Linked DNA regions of Homo sapiens: all the other regions are linked to region 3. Evidence: promoter capture Hi-C in human tissues and cell types (Jung and others, 2019). All regions are on one chromosome and are shown on one strand. Each heading gives the region's core, a stretch centred on a gene start or on the middle of the fragment in contact. The rest is flanking DNA. Distances are from core to core; before and after follow the strand shown.

The links. The method cuts DNA at HindIII sites, captures the fragments that hold promoters and counts their contacts. A contact is called where the count stands out against the background at its distance.
Region 1: a contact is called between a fragment that was not itself captured here and the fragment with the promoter of DNTTIP2 in region 3, in 1 of the 25 tissues and cell types used here (heart right ventricle).
Region 2: a fragment that was not itself captured here is called in contact with the fragment with the promoter of DNTTIP2 in region 3 in 1 of the 25 tissues and cell types used here (hippocampus).

What each region holds. Positions count from the first base shown.
Region 1 is chr1:93,632,961-93,635,660 of GRCh38, forward strand. The region is part of intron 3 of BCAR3 (BCAR3 adaptor protein, NSP family member); the gene reads right to left. Among named protein-coding and RNA genes, the nearest start is that of BCAR3-AS1, 42 kb to the left of the region's middle. The HindIII fragment of the contact is 5,755 bases long and covers 1-2,700 here.
Region 2 is chr1:93,659,252-93,661,951 of GRCh38, forward strand. All of the region lies in intron 2 of BCAR3 (BCAR3 adaptor protein, NSP family member), which reads right to left. Among named protein-coding and RNA genes, the nearest start is that of BCAR3, 21 kb to the right of the region's middle. RefSeq lists an enhancer at 2,634-2,700. The HindIII fragment of the contact is 4,330 bases long and covers 1-2,700 here.
Region 3 is chr1:93,877,878-93,880,577 of GRCh38, forward strand. DNTTIP2 (deoxynucleotidyltransferase terminal interacting protein 2) reads right to left here and starts at 1,329. Exons shown (of 7, transcript NM_014597.5): 1 at 1,200-1,329. The coding sequence starts at 1,271. RefSeq lists enhancers at 1,055-1,484, 1,336-2,151. The HindIII fragment of the contact is 10,129 bases long and covers 1-2,700 here.

The DNA.
Region 1 (2,700 bases), core at 181-2,680, 240 kb before region 3:
GTGAGCCGAGATTGCATGGTTGCACTCCAGCCTGGGCAACAAGAGCGAAACTCCACATAAAAAAAAAGCCATATTAAAATATAAAATCCACTTTTAGCTTAGTGGTCATATAAAAATAGGTGGTGGGCTAGATTTGGTCTTAGGCTATAGTTTGCTGACCCCTTGGTCTAAAGATATCCACAAATGCTCGAAGATTAACGTCACTGTGGTAACAAGGTTTCCAAATGGACATCTCCTTTCCTCCCTATTTACTGGCTTCTGGCACAATGCTAGGTACTGGTGTGGTCCCAGGAACTGCCCCTAGCTTCTCTCCCTCACCTGCACCATTTACATCCTGTTAGAATCTCTCAGCTTCCCTAATAACTGGGTCTTAATTCTATCTCTAAAAGCCCTTCACCATGTGGCCTAACTTTCCATTCCCACTGCGACTATCTCAGGTTAGGCTCCTGGTAACACTTTCTTCCCACCTGGTCTGACCTGACTGAACAATTACAAACACATGGTATATACTAAAAAATATCTGTTGAATGAGCCACTGCAGTCAAAAATCTTCAAGCTCGGCACTTTTTCCATCTCATCAAGGGTCTGGCCTCCCTGGTGTGGCCCATCTCAAAATGGAAAATTTCTCCTACTGAGGTGGCAGCACTTAAGGACTGAAATACAAGGCTTTAACTTGCCTTTTTTTGTCTGTTTTGATACACTCTGGCTCTATCGCCCAGTCTGGAGTGCAGTGGCGCAATCTTTGCTCACTGCAACCTCCACCTCTCAGGTTCAAGCAATTCTCCTGCCTCCGCCTCCCGAGTAGCTGGGATTACAGGCGCATGCCACCATGCCCGGGTAATTTTTGTATTTTTTTAGTTAGTAGTCAGGGGCTTCACCATGTTGGCCAAGCTGGTCTCGAACTCCTGACCTTGTGATCCGCCTGCCTCGGCCTCCCAAAGGGCGTGAGCCACCACACCCAGCCTAGCTTGCTTTTTAAGGTCAGGCTTATTGGGTATAATTTGCATTCAGCAAAAGTCACCCTTTTCAGTACAATTCCATGAGCACTGACAGCCAACCCCAGTTGGGTAACTACCACTACAATCACGATATTTCTATTTCTATCATCCCTGGAAGCTCCTTGGTGTACTTCATCTCTTCTCCAACCTCTTTTCAACCATTTATTTGTTTTCTGTCACTATAAGTTTTGCCTTTTCCAGAATATCATACAAATGTAATTTTAGAGTACGTAGCCTTTGAGACTGTCTACTTTCACTCAACGTAATGTATTCAAGATTCACCCATGATATGGTTTGGCTGTGTCCCCACCCAAATCTCATCTTGAATTCCCATGTGTTGTGGGAGGGACCTGGTGGGAGGTAATTGAATCATGGGGGCAGGTCTTTCCCATGCTGTTCTCATGATAGTGAATAAGTCTCATGAGATCTGATGTTTAAAATGGGGAGTTTTGGCTGGGCGCAGTGGCTCATGCCTATAATCCCAGCACTTTGGGAGGTCGAGGTGGGTGGATCATTTGAGGTCAGGAGTGCGAGACCAGGCTGGCCAACGTGGCAAAACCCCACCTCTACTAAAAATACAAAAAAAATTAGCTGGGCATGGTGGCCCAGGCCTATAATCCCAGCTACTTGGGAAGCTGAGGGAGGAGAATTGCTTGAACCGAGGAAGTGGAGGTTGCAATGAGTCAAGATCATGCCACTGCACTCCAGCCAGGGCAACACAGTGAGACTCTGTCTCAAAACAACAACAACAACAACAACAACAAAAAAAAAACGGAGTTTCCCTGCACAAGCTCTCTTCTCTTGTCTGCTGCCATGTGAGATGTGCCTTTCACCTTCCACCATGATTGTGAGGCCTCCCCAGCCATATGGAACTGTAAGTTCAATAAACCTTTTTCTTTTGTAAATTGCCCAGTCTCGGGTATGTCTTTATCAGCAGCACGAAAACAGACTAACACAATGTGTGTTTCTGCGTATATCAACAGTCCACTCCTAGGCTGGAAGCAGTGGCTCACACATGTAATCCCAGCACTTTGGGAGGCCAAGGCAGGAGGAAGGCCAGAGTTCGAGACCAGCCCAAGCACACAGGGAGACCCCATCTCTACAAAAAATAAACAAGTTAGCTGGGTGTGGTAGTGAGTGCCTGGAGTCCTAGCTACTCAGTGAGGTGGGAGGATCACCCGAGACCAGAAGTTTGAGGTTACAGTGAGCTATGATTGCACCACTGAACTCCAGCCTGGGCAACAGAATGAGACCCTGTTTCTTAAAAAAATAAGTAAATAAAAGTCCATTCCTCTTTAAGGTTAAATAATATGCCATTATATGGGTGTACTACTTTTTTCCAGTTGAAGGACTTTGGGGTTGTCTCCAGTTTTTGTTTTTGTCAATTACGAATAATGTCACTATAAACATGCATATAGACTTTTATACGGACATGTGTTTTCATAAGGTTTTACTCTTTATAAATGGCCACATTTTCATAGACCTGAAGGATAAGATTCCACTGAATGAGGGAGACTGTCATCCATACCTAGGATGTGGGAACATCCTACCTCAGCATTTTTAATAACTGTAGTAACACCGAACCTCCCAAGAATATTTGCAGAGAATGTTTTTGGGGTGGAGTGGAAGAAGTTGGATGGGAGCTCCCTTTCGTCCCTCTGCATGTGGGCCCCAGAGCGGGCCAGGGCTGTTTTACATTCAC
Region 2 (2,700 bases), core at 118-2,617, 220 kb before region 3:
TCACTGCAGCCTCGACCTAATGGGGTTAAATAAATCAATCCTCCTGACTCAGCCTCCTGAGTAGCTGAGACTACAATCGCATGCCACCATGCCTGGCTAATTTTTTTATTTTTTATTTTTTTGTAGAGATGGGGTCTTGCTATGTTGTCCAGGCTGTTCTCAAACCCCTGGGCTCAAGCAATCCTCCCTGCTCAGCCTCCCAAAATGCTGAGATTATAGGCATGAGACACCATGCCTGGCCAGCAACCGGCTTTAAGTCTATGAAGATTTTGCATCTACTGGACAATATTCCTTCTACTATAATAGAAATATATATTATATATATGGTTACATATATAAGTATAATAATGTTCTATTAGATAAGGTTATTACATGGGACAGTCTAGCATTCTCATTTTATATTTTTTAGATGACAATCACGGTTCTAAGGTCTTGCCCAACTCACCAGCCTAATCTCCTCACCTTGCTCCTTACACTCCAGCAAATTTAACTACTTGGAATTACCTGTATCAATAGGCCTGGGGTCCCCATCCTCTTCTCATTCATCCCTGGCTTCTCTGACCACACGTTCCCACCCCCACCCACACACACAACTCATACAATCAGTGACATCTCCTCAGTGCTCCTTTCCTATGAATTATAAAACTTTGTGATGACAAACAATTACAATTCGATATACCATGTGTATTCCCGTCTATGTCCCTTACTGGACTATGAGCTCACTAAGAACAGGGACCACACTGTATTCACCTTTGTACCTCCCGTGCAGTTGCTCCATGTATGTTGGTTTGAATAAATGAACGTGTGTGTGTGTGTGTGTGTGTGTGTGTGTTTTCTCTAATACGCGGAAGACCTAGACCTTCCTCCCACTACACTCTATGAGTTCACTAAGGGAATAAAACATTGGAAGGAGAGAGGGAACAAGAGAGAAATGTTGTTCTTGGATTGACAGGCCCCCTCATTAAGGAGATAATTTAGCCACAGGCCAGCGACCGAACTGTGATGGCCTCAGACAGAACTCCCTCAGCAACAGAACAGCACTGCTGCCAGAGCAGCGCCTGGCTCCCCAGCCCCAATGAGACCAGATGTTTTCAAAGTGATACTGTGAGAGGCTGGCTGATCTTGTTGAAAATGAATCTCTCTGAACATGTTTAAAATACCAGGGAGAAACTTAATCAGGGAGATAACCAAGAGAACAGACAGAGTTTACCATAGGGCCATTTCTATCTGTTTACCAGGAAAAAGAGAAAACAAACAGGCTTAAAATGGGACACGCCTGGTGAGTGCAGAAATGACATTTTTGGAAAAATATCAGCTAGTGTGTGCTTAGATTAGCAGGTTATTTACTGATGTTGGGAATCATATTAAGGTCCCAATAAAGAGTTACTTTCTTACTGCAGGCAGGGGAATATTGTGCATATAGCCTTTGCTAAATTTAAAAGCAATGTAGCTAGCTTGCTTATTTATTTGTTTGTTTGTTTGATACAGAGTCTCGCAATGTTGCCCAGCCCAGAGTGCAATGGCACGATCTTGACTTACTGCAACCTCTGCCACCCAGGTTCAAGCGATTCTCCTGCCTCAGCCTCCCAAGTAGCTGGGATTACAGGCGCCCGCCACCATGCCTGGATAATTTCTTTTTTTTTAGACGGAGTTTCACTCTTGTTGCCCAGGCTGGAGTGCAATTGCACGATCTTGGCTCACTACAACCTCCACCTCCCGGGTTCAAGTGATTCTCCTGCCTCAGCCTCCCAAATAGCTGGGATTACAGGCACCCGCCACCATGCCTGGCTAATTTCTTTTTTTTTGAGATGGAGTTTTGCTCTTGTTGCCCAGGCTGGAGTGCAATGGCATGATCTCCGCTCACCACAACCTCCGCCTCCCGGGTTCAAGTGATTCTCCTGCCTCAGCCTCCCGAGTAGGTGGGATTACAGGGATGCGCCACCACGCCCTGCTAATTTTATAGTTTTAGTAGAGACGGGGTTTCTTCATGTTGGTCAGGTTGGTCTTGAACTCCCAACCTCAGGTGATCCACCCACCTCAGCCTCCCAAAGTGCTGGGATTACAGGTGTAAGCCACTGCACCCGGCCTACAAATTTTTGTATTTTTAGTAGAGACGGTATGGGTTTCACCATGTTGACCAGGCTGGTCTCGAACTCCTGACCTCAAGTGATCTGCCAGCCTTGGCCTCTCAAAATGCTGGCATTACAGGGGTGAGCCACCATACCTGGCCCAGTGTAGCTTTTTTTTTTTTTTGAGACGAAGTTTCGCTCTGTTGCCCCAGGCTGGATTACAATGGTGCAATCTCCGCTCACTGCAACCTCTGCCTCCCGAGCTCCAGAGATTCTCCTGCCTCTGCCTCCCAAGTAGCTGGGATTACAGGCATGTATCACCACACCCGGCTAAATTTTTTTGTATTTAATAGAGACGGGGTTTCACCCTGTTGGTCAGGCTGGTCTCGAACTCCTGACCTCAGGTGATCCACCCACCTTGGCCTCCCAAAGTGTTGGGATTACAGGTGTTAGCCACTGCGCCCAGCCCCAATGTAGCTTTAAACAGAGAACTATAAAACTTCTAGATGTGCGCTTAAATATTTTTGTTTCATCCCCTTGCAAAATAAATGAGAAGAGATTCAGTCTTCCACATCTTAAAACATACCCATTGATCTTATTTGTTAAAGTATGTTTTACTAGCAGTTAGCAG
Region 3 (2,700 bases), core at 79-2,578:
AACACACTGTAATTTAGGTAGGGCTGGAACAAGGGCAAAGCAAATGAAATACTGACCCCAAAAGCTAAAACCCAGTAAACAAGATTACCTTTAAAACAAAAAACAAAAAAACCTGCCCAACTCATGATTTTTAAAAAATCAAAATTTGGCCGGGCGCGGTGGCTTACGGCTGTAATCCCAGCACTCTGGGAGGCCGAGGCAGGTGGATCACGAGGTCAGGAGTTCGAGACAGCTTGGCCAACATAGTGAAACCCCATCTCTACTCAAAGTAAAAAAATTAGCGGGGCGTGTTGGTGCGCACCTGTAATCCCAACTACTCAGGAGCCTGAGGCAGAAGAATTGTTGGAATCCGGGAGGCAGAAGTTGCAGTGAGCCGAGGCTGCGCCACTGCACTCTAGCCTGGGCGACAGAGCAAGACTCCGAATCAAAAACAAACAAACAAAAAAATCAAAATTTAAACACTGGAGCCAACCCTGCATTTACTTCACTAGCCTCATCCTTCCTAGATGTAACTTCAGAAGCAGAACGATTAAAATTTTTCTGTTTAAAGTCAAATATAATGGGTAGACCAACATTCTGACCCACCTATAGAAGAGGGGAGAAAGGGAATATTAACTCTGAACACCGATGTGTTTAGGAACACACTGATGGAATCAGTCGCCGCCCTTACCTTTACGTACAGGAAAAAATCGCCGCCGCTCCGTTCCCTGCATCGCTGAGTCAGAATGAGACAGCCGACTAACGCCACTAAGAGTCACCAGGCGACGACACCACAGCCCTCCTCACGCCTTAAGGAGGTGATGCTGGACAGCTGCCAGCCTCCCCACGTGAAAACGAAGCTTTTTTTCCAGCCCCCCTAAATGGGGCTTGTGCATGGTGGCCGAAATTAACCCTCCTTGGTACCGTGTTAACAGTAAGGTTTAAAAGTTCGAACTGTGCTTCTGCATTAAGGAGTTGAACGACCCAAATAAAGTTATCTAACCTCTCTTCCATACTAAAAATTGCCTTAAGAGACAGTGGTGAAGGCTAAACAGTTTCCGTGACAGGCTTAGCACGGGGCCTGGGAGACCCAAGCGCGCGGCAAGCTCGGGTCCTCTCTGTCGGCAGGTCCTCACCCTTAACCGGACCCTTGCGCCGCCCCGCCTGCCTGAGCGCGGCTCTGCGAAGCGGCGAGAAGTAGGGAAGACTGGATTTCCTACCTTTTGCCCGGAACTTTCAGCCGACGCGGCTTGGATGCTGGCCTTAGCCCGTGCAGATCTGGTAACCACCATCTTTCCGGCTCCCTCGCGACCACCACGACTTCCCTCTTCCCTGGCGCTCCGGAAATGCGTCAGAGAACTGCCTCGAGCGCGTTTTCCGCGCAGATCCGAGAATTCGCGAGAATCTCCGCCCAGCCAGTTCAGGCCAGGGCGGTCAGAGACAAAGGGCCTGGGTTTAAGTGTGCATTTCAGAGCTGTAGAAGGCAAGCCAGATTTTTGCTGGGAAAGACCTTCATCGGGGCGGCGAAGCCCGCAGTGACAGAGGGTCTTAGCGTACCCGTTCACATGAATTGTAAAAACGCACTTACATGCCATTCGTTCTTTCATTTGTTTAGTAGAATCGTTTGAACCCGGGAGGCGTTCTTTCATTTCTACGTTCTAAAGAGCTTAATGTAGCCATTGGTATGTCCAAGGGAGAAGTTTGAGATATTTGTGCTTTTTAAAGAAAGACAATATTTACTCGTGTATTGTGACGCTAACTATAAATAAAATTTAAGGACTTGGTTGGGGTAAAAGGGATATAAGGTGCTCGCAGGAACTGGGAGACGAAGTGGAAAGCTGTATAATCTAAACGTGAGATGGTGTTTAGGGATTGGGAATAGCAGAAAAGAAAAAAACGTTAAAGAAATTGTAAAGGAGAAGAATAAGGTTTTGTTGTTGTTGTTGTTGTTGTTATTGTCACAGTGAAAGGAAGAGTATGACCAGAATCAAGAGGTTTCTTTGGTTATCTTTTGAGATAAAAGGTAGAGAACTATGTTTGAGGGGATGGGAAGGGGTTGAAAAAATAAGTAAACGCAAATTATTGTTGGAGGTGAGAAAGGATGAATGAGTGCCTCACCAAACCTAGTCTCTACTTCATGACAGAAAACCAATTTTTTATTTAAAGTCACAGAACACTGTGTCGATGGACACACTGCTTCCCAGCTTAAAATAGCTTATTTTATAGTCTCTCTTGCAGCCAAATGTGGCTATGTGACTACGTTTTAGCCAATTAGGTATAAATTGTGTGCATGTCTTTAGGGACGGCATCTAAAAGAGAGGAGGCCGTCCCTGACTTTTTTTTTTGGAGACGGAGTCTTGCTCTGTCGCCCAGGGTGGAGTGCAATGGCGCAATCTTGGGTCACTGCAACCTCCGCCTCCCGGGTTCAAGCGATTCTCCTGCTTCAGCCTCCTGAGTAGCTGAGATTACAGGCGCCCGCCACCATTCCTGGCTAATTTTTTTTTTGTATTTTTAGTAGAGACGGGGTTTCACCATGTTGGGCAGGCTGGTCTTGAACTCCTGCCTTCAGGTGATTCACCCGCCTCGGCCTCTCAAAGTGCTGGGATTACAGTGCTGGGATTATAGGCCTAAACGACCTCGCCCAGCCCTCCTGATCTTTTAAAGTGCATTTTACTTCCTGGAAAGTTGGGTTCGCTGGTTTTCAGGCGGCAAGTTTGTGCC